3 separate regions of the Homo sapiens genome follow, and all the other regions are linked to region 1. The links are contacts of gene promoters, found by promoter capture Hi-C in human tissues and cell types (Jung and others, 2019). All regions are on one chromosome and are shown on one strand. The core of a region is centred on a gene start or on the middle of the fragment in contact, and the rest is flanking DNA. Distances in the headings are between cores, read along the strand shown.

The links. The method cuts DNA at HindIII sites, captures the fragments that hold promoters and counts their contacts. A contact is called where the count stands out against the background at its distance.
Region 2: the fragment with the promoter of TRAP1 here is called in contact with a fragment that was not itself captured in region 1 in 3 of the 25 tissues and cell types used here (bladder, heart right ventricle and mesenchymal stem cells).
Region 3: a contact is called between the fragment with the promoter of CORO7 here and a fragment that was not itself captured in region 1, in 1 of the 25 tissues and cell types used here (dorsolateral prefrontal cortex).

Annotation. Positions count from the first base shown.
Region 1 is chr16:3,974,458-3,977,635 of GRCh38, forward strand. ADCY9 (adenylate cyclase 9) reads right to left here. Exons shown (of 11, transcript NM_001116.4): 9 at 3,025-3,173; 10 at 212-253. Among named protein-coding and RNA genes, the nearest start is that of TRIDDENT, 26 kb to the left of the region's middle. The HindIII fragment of the contact is 3,508 bases long and covers 175-3,178 here.
Region 2 is chr16:3,715,997-3,719,385 of GRCh38, forward strand. It overlaps TRAP1 (TNF receptor associated protein 1), which reads right to left and starts at 1,528. Exons shown (of 18, transcript NM_016292.3): 1 at 1,425-1,528. The coding sequence starts at 1,512. RefSeq lists silencers at 1,129-1,248, 1,269-1,878. The HindIII fragment of the contact is 28,184 bases long and covers 1-3,389 here.
Region 3 is chr16:4,414,735-4,417,955 of GRCh38, forward strand. It overlaps CORO7 (coronin 7), which reads right to left and starts at 1,862. Exons shown (of 28, transcript NM_024535.5): 1 at 1,725-1,862. The coding sequence starts at 1,784. It overlaps CORO7-PAM16 (CORO7-PAM16 readthrough), which reads right to left and starts at 1,862. Exons shown (of 31, transcript NM_001201479.2): 1 at 1,725-1,862. The coding sequence starts at 1,784. LOC124903635 (a long non-coding RNA gene) reads right to left here. Exons shown (of 3, transcript XR_007064963.1): 3 at 1,991-2,227. The HindIII fragment of the contact is 38,450 bases long and covers 1-3,221 here.

The DNA of each region.
Region 1 (3,178 bases), core at 679-3,178:
TATTAAAATAATAAAACTAATTTTATTTTCCCCATTAGACATTATAACTATGATACAGTTCAACGAGGAGATATTTTCCACTTTCTATTCTAAGAATGCACGTATTGTTCCTTTTATTCAAGATCCCATTGTTTTCAGGAAGCTTCGAAATGGGCAGGGTAATACAGTCACTCTCGTTTATTCAGACAGAAGTGCAATATTAAAAGCTTACCTGAAATTCTGTACTGCGTCAAGGGGCGAAGTTAATACAGAACTGAAATTAAAATGCAGAAAAATATTATCATAAAGAGCAAAGAAGGCATTCCACAAGGCAACCTGAGAAGAGCTTGAACAAACTATGTTCCTTTTTTAGACGTGGTTGTACATCCACATAAAGCCACCTGCTCCCACCTCTTTCTTCACATCTGTGTCTCCCAATGCTGGGGGCAGTTCCCTTGGTAAAGCTGAGTTTACGTCTTTGTTTACCATCCCGCATCCTCTCTATCCTGCTGAGGCTTAGCAACCGTGATGGGATTAGGGGCTCTGAGGCCTCAAGTGGATGGAGGAGTTCTGGGCCGAGTGGAACTTCAACCATCATCCCTACCCCAGATCTGCTATTTGAACTCTGGGCACAAAGGCGGCAGAGGGGTCCCCCATCACTGTGGCTCTCCAGCTCCAGGTAGAAAAGCCCCGCAGCCATGACTAAAGGCCACGGTGAATGCCCGATGAGGGACCTGTGATGGATTTAAAAGGTAAAAAGCAGTTTGCTGGATTTCATACTCTCGAGAAAGAGCTCATCGTGACCATCGTTCTAGATGGCCATACCTTCAGAAAAATCCAAGTCTGCTTTATTTTGCTTAATCTATTCATTAAAGTTTCCTTTCAAGTACTGAATGACAGTCCTATTTTAAATTCCCTTTTTGATCTTAATTTGCAGGGAATTTAAATGTCTTTTGTATTGTGATTCTTTTCTTAAGTAAACTGAGGACGGATGCTCACACTGCCCATGGCTGGACTGTTGCTTTGCTAATAACCAAAGACACCCCGTGCCTACTCCGTCTGATACTGACAATACTGCGGCAAATAGAATCATTTTGTGCTTTTGAATGAATTCAAGCAGAGGTCCTTGGCAACAGCAATGCCACTCCAACGGGGCATTTCGGAAATGCCAGGGGTCCCTCTGGTTCTCTTAATAACTCAGGGAGCCAGAATGTTAGATCTCCTGCAAGGACAAGGAAGAAATGTCCCATGTGACTTTAAAACATTCTGCGCACCTAAACCCTCTGTAATTGTAAACAGGCGGTTCTTCAATACACACTAATAGTGAAACATTTTTATAAGCAGTTATAGGAAAAGCCCAATATTTGGGAGAAATTTATTACATGAATGGAAGCTTAATGGGTTTAAGATATCACGAAATATTTGAATAAATTGTTCACTGCTTACATTCTGTTATACAAGGTATTACTGTATTTCCAACAACACATTTAGTTGAAAAGGCTTAAAATACCCTGAAACCAGTAGCAAATGTGTAATAGGCAATTTTGAGACTTATTTTTTATTTTTATTTTTGGAGACTGAGTCTTGCTCTGTCACCCAGGCTGGAGTGCAGTGGCGCGATCTCGGTTCACTGCAACCTCCGCCTCCCAGGGTCAACCAATTCTCCTGCCTCAGCCTCCTGAGTAGCTGGGACTACAGGTGCACACCGCCATGCCTGGCTAATTTTTTGTATTTTTAGTAGAGACAGGGTTTCACCGTGTTGCCCAGGCTGTCTTGAACTCCTGAGCTCAGACAATCCACCCGCTTCAGCCTCCCAAAAGTGGTAGGATTACAGGCGTGAGCACCAAGACCGGCTGGGACTTATTTTTAACAAATCAAGAATTATTCAGTTAGTGCAACACATGAAAGATAGGGATCTTACTGGATGTCGCTAATGGCAAATATTTTAAATATAGCACCTATCACTGCCATCCTGTAAGTTTTTACATTTTTTGTAGTACAATGATGAGAACTGGGCTTGTCCCCAGAGGTCTACCGGCCTCCCTGACTCCTGTTTCTGTGTCTGCGCCATCCCATTCCTCAGCACCTACCAGTGATACGGTTCTGAAGGCCAGCGTCCTCCTCAGTATGCAGAGGATTTCAAAATAAAAGACCTATGTTCAGTGACTGGTCATTAATCCTACGTCTCATGACATCATATGGGGAACTGTTTTGACCTATTTATTATTTTTTGTTTTTGAGATGGAATCTCACTCTTGTCACCCAGGCTGGAGTGCAATGGCACAATCTCAGCTCACTGCAACCTCCGCCTCCCGGGTACAAGCGGTTCTCCTACCTCAGCCTCCCAAGTAGCTGCGATTACAGGTGCACGCCCCCATGCCTGACTAATTTTTGTATTTTTCGTAGAGACGGGGTTTCACCATGTTGGCCAGGCTGGTCTTGAACTCCTGACCTCAGGTGATCTGCCTGCCTTGGCCTCCCAAAGTGCTGGGATTACAGGCATGAGCCACTGTGCCCAGCCTGACATAATATTTTGAAATAAGCCCCAGGTGACTTGCAAGATCATCCTACGTCTTCACCTCCTCCTTCCAGGCTGTGACCTGTCCCGGTTCATGAACCCTACCCCACTCAAGGAAAGTCAGCACCAGCTTCCTCTCCACCTTCACATCCATCTGCAGCTCCGCTCTTTCATGGCCTTGACCATCTTCTATGAAATCCTTCAGGTCCTACTTTCTTAGATTCCAGCCCATTCATCAGAAGTCACCTCGGTATAATGCAATGGCAGCATTATGTTTTCCAGGATGTCTACATTCAACTACCCAGAGTGCTGTTCTAAATGATATTCTTTTTCTTTCTTTTGCATATTACTCTGAGGGCATCTCATTAGCTCTTTGGTATGATGTGTGCTGACAGCTATTTTGGGTCATGATGGGAAATATCTCTATCGGGGCGTGAGAAGCAATGTGCAAATGCAGCCAGGCCCTACGCAACCTCGGGCAAGGTGGCCACGCACCCTGGTGCCCGCAAGCAGTGCTGGCCGCGTACCTGTCTGGGCACAGGGAGACGTAGAGCAGGAGCAGCGGCCCGGCCCCCACGACGGTGGCGAGGGAGGACCTCATCCAGGAGCTGAGCTGGCAGAAGTTACAGTAGTGCACGACGGCAATCAGCGCGGCCGAGCCTGTGAACACTGGGAACTGCA
Region 2 (3,389 bases), core at 278-2,777, 260 kb before region 1:
GGATTACAGGCGCGCGCCACCACACCCAGCTAATTTTTGTATTTTTAGTAGAGACAGGGTTTCACCATGTTGGCCAGGCTGGTCTTGAACTCCTGATCTGCCCACCTCAGGCTCCCAAAGTGCTAGGATTACAGGCGTGAGCCACCGCGCCCGGCCACAAGGTATCTTTTATAGACCACTGGTTTTGAAAAGACATAAGATTCAGCGTTGAAGAAAATACCTTTGGAATAGGCAGTCTTGATGCCTGCTAAAGGGGATATAAATTGATAAGGCCTTTTTGGACAATTTGGCAGTATCTGCTAACATTTCAAAAATGCATAGGCTCTGAAATATCAATTCTAAAATTCTAATTATGTAAGGCTAAAGAAATACCGCACGTGAACAAATATTTAAGTACTCACCCATTCTATGCAGCATTGTAATAAAAAGTAAAACCTGAAATAACCTTTATTGCGTCCACTAATAGGACAATGTTTAAACAAATGACACGTCCATCATACAGAATACTGTGTGGTCACTGGAAGGCACATGGACCTGTATACACTGACATGAAAAGATGTGGAAAGAATGCTGGGAGCGTTAAAATTTTCTGAAGTACAACGTAGCACAATGCATACATGGTTTAGGCTTTTTAGAATAAAAAATACTTATACGCAGACATTTATATTTACACGTATAACACTGTGTACAGCCCCGAAGCAATGCCGAAACTTTCACTGTTGTTACCTCCGAGTGGGGACTGGGAAAGCAGAGGTTAGGGTCGTTCTCTCTGTTTTACAAACATTTATTGGCGCATCCATCAATTCCAGGCCCCGAGGACACAGCTGCGTCAACGACATCGAGTCCACCTGCTCTGGGGACCCGGATGACTGCTATAGGTTTTGTTCACTGTGGCGTCCCCAGAACCTGCACGGCGCCGGGCACTGAGCGGGCGCTCACATGTGCGTCCAATGAACGAATTAACAAATGAACCCTCAGTGCGCTACTGGGAGGCGGGGAGGGGTAAAGCACGATCCATGGAACTAGCACGATCACCCCGAGTGAGTCCATTCCCCGCAACATGCACCCGCAAAGACTCCGCGCTCCGCAGCGGCTCCACCTGCACGTGCGCTACCTGACTGGACCGAAGCTCCAGGAGGGACGACCCCGCAGCCGCTCCGCCCGACCCCGCGACCCCCCAAGACCCAGCCTCCTTCAGGGCTCCCATGGGCGGGTGGCGAGGGGAGTCCAGCCGAGGAAAAGGCAGCCAAGCTGGAGCTGGCGAGGAGCGGAGCGAAAGTAAACGCGTCTGCCGCGCTTGGCCTCGCCGGACCTCCCACGCCTGTGAAGCAGGTGCCGGCGCCTCGCTCCCCGGAGCACAGGGACGTCCCTGCCGTCTCCGTGGCCCGGCCCGCCCGCTGCCCGTCCAGCCAGGACGCCCTCACCTCCCGGCACGGCCGCCAGCGCCGGCGCCCGCAGCAAAGGCCGCAGGCGGCGGCCCCACAGCAGCAGCGCCCGCAGCTCGCGCGCCATGTCGTACTCCCAGAGCGCCGCGCGCAGCCACGCGGGACCGTACACGATGGGAAGGGGCGGGACGGGGCTGCGCGGGGCGGGGCTTCCTCGGGCGCGGGGCGGTGACGTCACGGCGGGCGCCGGGCTGTCCGGGCAGCTGCCTGCTCGGGCGCGTGGCGGGGTACTACCCGTCTCGTGGACGGTCGGGCCTGGGGGTGGGACCTCCGTGACCTTGGATCGCGTTGTCAAGGGCGACGGGCCTTGCGCGCGGAGGTGGGGGAGGTGGCCCCGCCGCCCCCGGCCCACGCTGGCCGGCTGCGCCTAGCTGTGCGCATTCCTGGAATGGGGCGGATGTCAGTATCCACGCGAGGGTGTGGAGGCGACGCTGGGGAAGAAGCAGTTCCCGTGTCTGCGACCTTTGTGAATCCCGGCCATCCGTCTAGGCCGCTGCAAGTCTCTTGCAAACCAAGACTGGACAAAAAGCTAAAGCGAATGAGGAAGGGGATTCCAGGCTTGACTGGCTACTACTCCAAAACCTGAACCCAGTGACCAATACCACCAGGAAAACTGCGGTTATTCGTTTATTCCACTTCTCTTGTCCTTGTCGAGAAGAGTCAAACTCTAAAGTATTTAGAAGGTTATTCTGAGCCAAATATGAGTGTGCATGGAGGGAGGCACAGTCTCAAAAGGTCCTGAGAACTTGGCCCAAGGTGCTTGGGTTACAGCTTGCTTGGTTTTATACATTTTAGAGAGACATAAGACATCAGTCAATGCATGTAAGACATAGGTTGGTTCCGTGTGGAAAGGCAGGACAACTCAAAGGGTGAAATACTTAGAGGTCATAGGTGGATTCAGATACTTTCTGATTGGCAATTGGTTAAAAGAGTTGAGTTCTGGTTGGGCGCGGTGGCTCACGCCTGTAATCCTAGCACTTTGGGAGGCTGAGGTGGGCGGACTGCCTGCGGTCAGGAGTCCGAGACCAGCCTGGCCAACATGGTGAAAACCCATCATCTCTACTAAGATACAAAAAATTAGCTGGGCAAGGTGGCACGTGCCTGTAGTCCCAGCTCCTGGGGAGGCTGAGGCGGAAGAATAGCGTGAACCCGGGAGGCTGCGGTTGCAGTGAGCCGAGATCGTGCCACTTGCACTGCAGCCTGGGCGACAGAGCTGTGACTCCGTCTCAAAAAAAAAAAAAAAAGAAAACAAAAAAAAGAAAAAAAAGAGTTGAGTTATACAGACCTGGAATCAATAAAAAGAGTGTCTGGGTGAAGATAAGGGGTTGTGGGCACGAGCACGGTGACTCACACCTGTAATCCCAACACTTTGGGATGCCGAGGTGGGCGAATTGCTTGAGGTCAGGAGTTGGAGAGCAGCGTGGGCAACATGGTGAGACCCTGTCTGTACCAAACATACCTGTACCGGATGTGGTGGCGGAGGCCTGTAATCCCAGCTACAAGGGAGGCTGAGGTGGGTGGATTGCTTAAGCCCAGGAGGGAGAGGTTGCAGTGAGCCAAGTTCGTGCCATTGAACTCCAGCTTGGGCAAGAGAGCCACACCCTGTCTCAAAACAAACAAACAAACAAACAAACAAAAAACAGGTTGTGAAGACCAAGGTTCTTATTATGTAGAGGAAGTCTCATAGATGACCACCCTTACAGGTAATAGATGGCAAATGTTTTCGCAAATATTGTTTATTCAGACCGTTAAAAATTCCTAGACCCTCAGGATCAGGAAAAGACCTGCAAAGGTGGCCTGGCATGGTGGCTTACGCATGTAATTCCAGCACTTTAGGAGGCCAAGGTGGTCTTATCACTTGAGGTCAGGAGGTTGAGACCAGCCTGGTCGGCATGGCAAAACCCCATCTCTACTAAAAATACAAAAATTAGGCCAAGAGCAGTG
Region 3 (3,221 bases), core at 612-3,111, 440 kb after region 1:
CCCACCCAGGAGCAAGAATTAGGGCCCCTCAAGTATTCTCCAGACCCCTCCAAGCAGTACTTAACTGCACTCAGAGCCACCGGCTGTCTTGATGCAAACCTAGGTACCTCCTCCTAACTTTTCTTGTTTGTTTTTTTCTTTTTTTGAGACAGTGTCTCACTCTATTGCCCAGGCTGGTGTGTAGTGGCACAATCTCGGCTCACTGCAACCTCCACTTCCTCGGCTCAAGAGATCCTCCAACCTCAGCCTCCCAAGTAGCTGGGACCACGGGAGTGAGTCACCACACCTGGCTAATTTTTTTTTCTTTAACTTGTTGTTCAGAGGGGTTTCGCAATGTTGCCCAGGCTGGTCTCGAACTCCTGAGCTCAAAGCAGTCCACCCAAAGTACTGGGATTACCGTGAGTCATGGTATCCAGCCCCTCCCCCTAACTTTTCAATGGCTCTGCACTGCAATCAGAATAAAACCCAACTTCTTCCGGTGGCCCTTGGGTTCTGCAGGACCACTCTGGACTCATCTGTCACCATACTGCTCCGGCCATCCCCTCCATCCACTCATGCTCACTTTCCATTTCTCCACCAGGCTCTTTCTCAATTCTCACCCTTCTGGCCTCAGCTAAAATGCCATCTACTCCAGGCAGCCTTTCCTGACCACGCTACTGAGACTGGCCCCCTCCATTCTCCATCCCAGTCCCTCATGTGTGTTCTTCAATGTCGTTATGAAAACCTCCAATGCTCTTGTTTGTCTGCTTGCTGTCTCCCTCATGAGGCTACAAGTGCCACAGGGGAAGGAAAATGCCGTTGTGTTCACCGGGATGTCTCCAGCAGCTTAGCACAGCATAAAGTGGAAGCAGAGGAAATATAGTCCACACTACAAAAACGGAACCTCTACCCAGACTGCCCTGACTTGCTCTGGGACCCTGATGGGGTCACTTGAGGTCAACTCCTAGGCCCAGTTATCGGAGGACACTCCCAGGCCTTACAAATAACACGGAAAGCGGAAGAGCAGAGCTGACATCGTTTCCAAGGCGCACCCCTCATCAGTCCTCCTGCCGTTTCGGGGGTCCGAAGGGTCTCCCGGCACCTGGCTCAGCAATTCTTTGGGGCTCCACCTGCTCAGGCTTCCCCAGGCCCCACCCAGCCGTGGCAGCATCACCGAGATAAAGAAAGAGCTTGCGCCAGCGGCGAGAGGAGGAAGCACCGGCGGAAACCCGAGGGAGGGGCGCGTGCGGCCGAGGGGCTCCCTCCCCACCACTGACACACTTGGGCTCGCCGGGGCCAGAGGAGAGAGGGGCGTCTCCCCACAGCCCAGCCAGGGGCAGGGGCGACCCGGGGCGGCAGGGAGGAGGAGCCAGGCGCCGGCAGCGCCCCGAGCCCCGGCTCCCGGCGAGGCCGACCGGAAGCTGGGAAGGCAGGCGGCCTCGCAGGCCTGGGCCCCGGCTAGGAGGGCTGCGCCGCCTCGGGGGTCCCGGGGCGAGGTGGGCGAGGCGGGCAGACCGCCAGGGTCACCGAGCGCCAGAGCGAGTCACGGGAGTGCCGGACTCTGCCCTCCGGCGGCGACGAAACGGCCCGGACGCCGGGGCCCTGGCCTGAAGGGGGGTTCCCCGGGGATGGAGGTCTCGGGGTTCCAGACGGCCCTGGAGGGCACCCCTGTGGGGTCCGGGCAGGGGGAGGGGCAGCCGGACGGGGCCCGAGGCGACAGCGCCCGGTCCTCGGGCCGGACTCACCTCGCGGCGGGGCGGCCGAGCCTCGGTGTGCCGGAACTTGGACACCCTGAAGCGGTTCATGGCGACGGGCACGGCGGCGGACGCGTCTTCGAGGACCCCGGGCGTCGGGTCTCAGGTGCACGCTGAGCAACCGCGACTCCCGCTGCCTCGGCCCCACCCGGGACCCAATGCCGCGGTCACGCCCCCGGCGCGCCCCACTGCCAATCGCAGCCGTCTCCGGCCCCCTGGGCCACGCCCCCAAGCCCCTCTCCTTTCGCGCGCGCACCACCGGTCCCGCCTCCCGGCCAATCCAGGTACGGCCGCCCCGCGAGGCCACGCCCTGATACCGAGGGGACGGACTGGCGCGGGTGGGAGGTCACGTGGGGCGCAGCTGTCAGCCCACGTCTCCTGCGGTGCTTGCTTGCGTGGGGTCTCGGCTGCAGCATTCGCGATTTTGTGTGCAGGATTTGCTGTGGAGTCTTTGCGGTGTACCTAGCACGCCTTCCAGCACTATCTACCTCTTCCTGTAGAGAGGGGAGAAATTAGCTCCATTTCAGAGACAGGAAACCCCCGGCTAAAGGAGAGTGTAAACTGTCGGTCCCCAGGTCACACCAGTGGTAAGAGGCAGAGGGGGAACAGGGGCCCAGGTCTAAAGCAAATCCCTGTCCACCGGGCCTACTCAAAAGCCTCTGCATCCGGCCAGGCGCTCTGCATCCGGCCAGGCGCGGTGGCTCAGGTCTGTAATCCCGAACTTTGGGAGACTGAGGCAGGAGTATCCCTTGAGCCCAAGAGGTCGAGGCTGCAGTTATCTGTGACCGTGCCACTGCACTCCAGCCTGGGAGACAGAAAGAGACCCTGCCTCTAAAAATAATAATAATAATAGCTTTTAATTTTTCTTTAGTATTTATTCATTTATTTGACACGGAGTCCCTGTCACCCAGGCTGGAGTGCAGTGGCGCGATCTCAGCTCACTGCACCCTCTGCCTCGCGGGTTCAAGCAATTCTCTTGCCTCAGCCTCCCGAATAGCTGGGATTACAGGCGCCTGCCACCGCGCCCAACTAATTTTTTATTTTTAGTAAGAGACGGGGTTTCACCATGATGGTCAGGCTGGTCTCGAACGAGACTCAAGCAGTCCTCCCAACTTGGCCTGCCAAAGTGTGGGGATTATAGGAATGAGCCAACGCACCCAGCTGATTCTTGCATTTCTAAGGTTTGAAAAGCAATGCTTACATTTTATCTTAGTTCGGGCAGAAGTGTATTTACTGTGAACCAAAGTCACTTGTGGTTTATTGAAAAGGCTTTTTGTTTGTTTGTTTTGAGACAGAGTCTCACTCTGTTGCCCAGGCTGGAGTGCAGTGGTGTCATCTCAGCTCACTGCAACCTCCACCTCCTGAGTTCAAGCGATTCTCCTGCTTCAGCCTCCCAAGCAGCTGGGATTACAGGTGTGCGCCACTACTCCTAATTTTTGTATTTTTAGTAGAGATGGGATTTTGCCATGTTGGCCAGGCTGGTCTCAA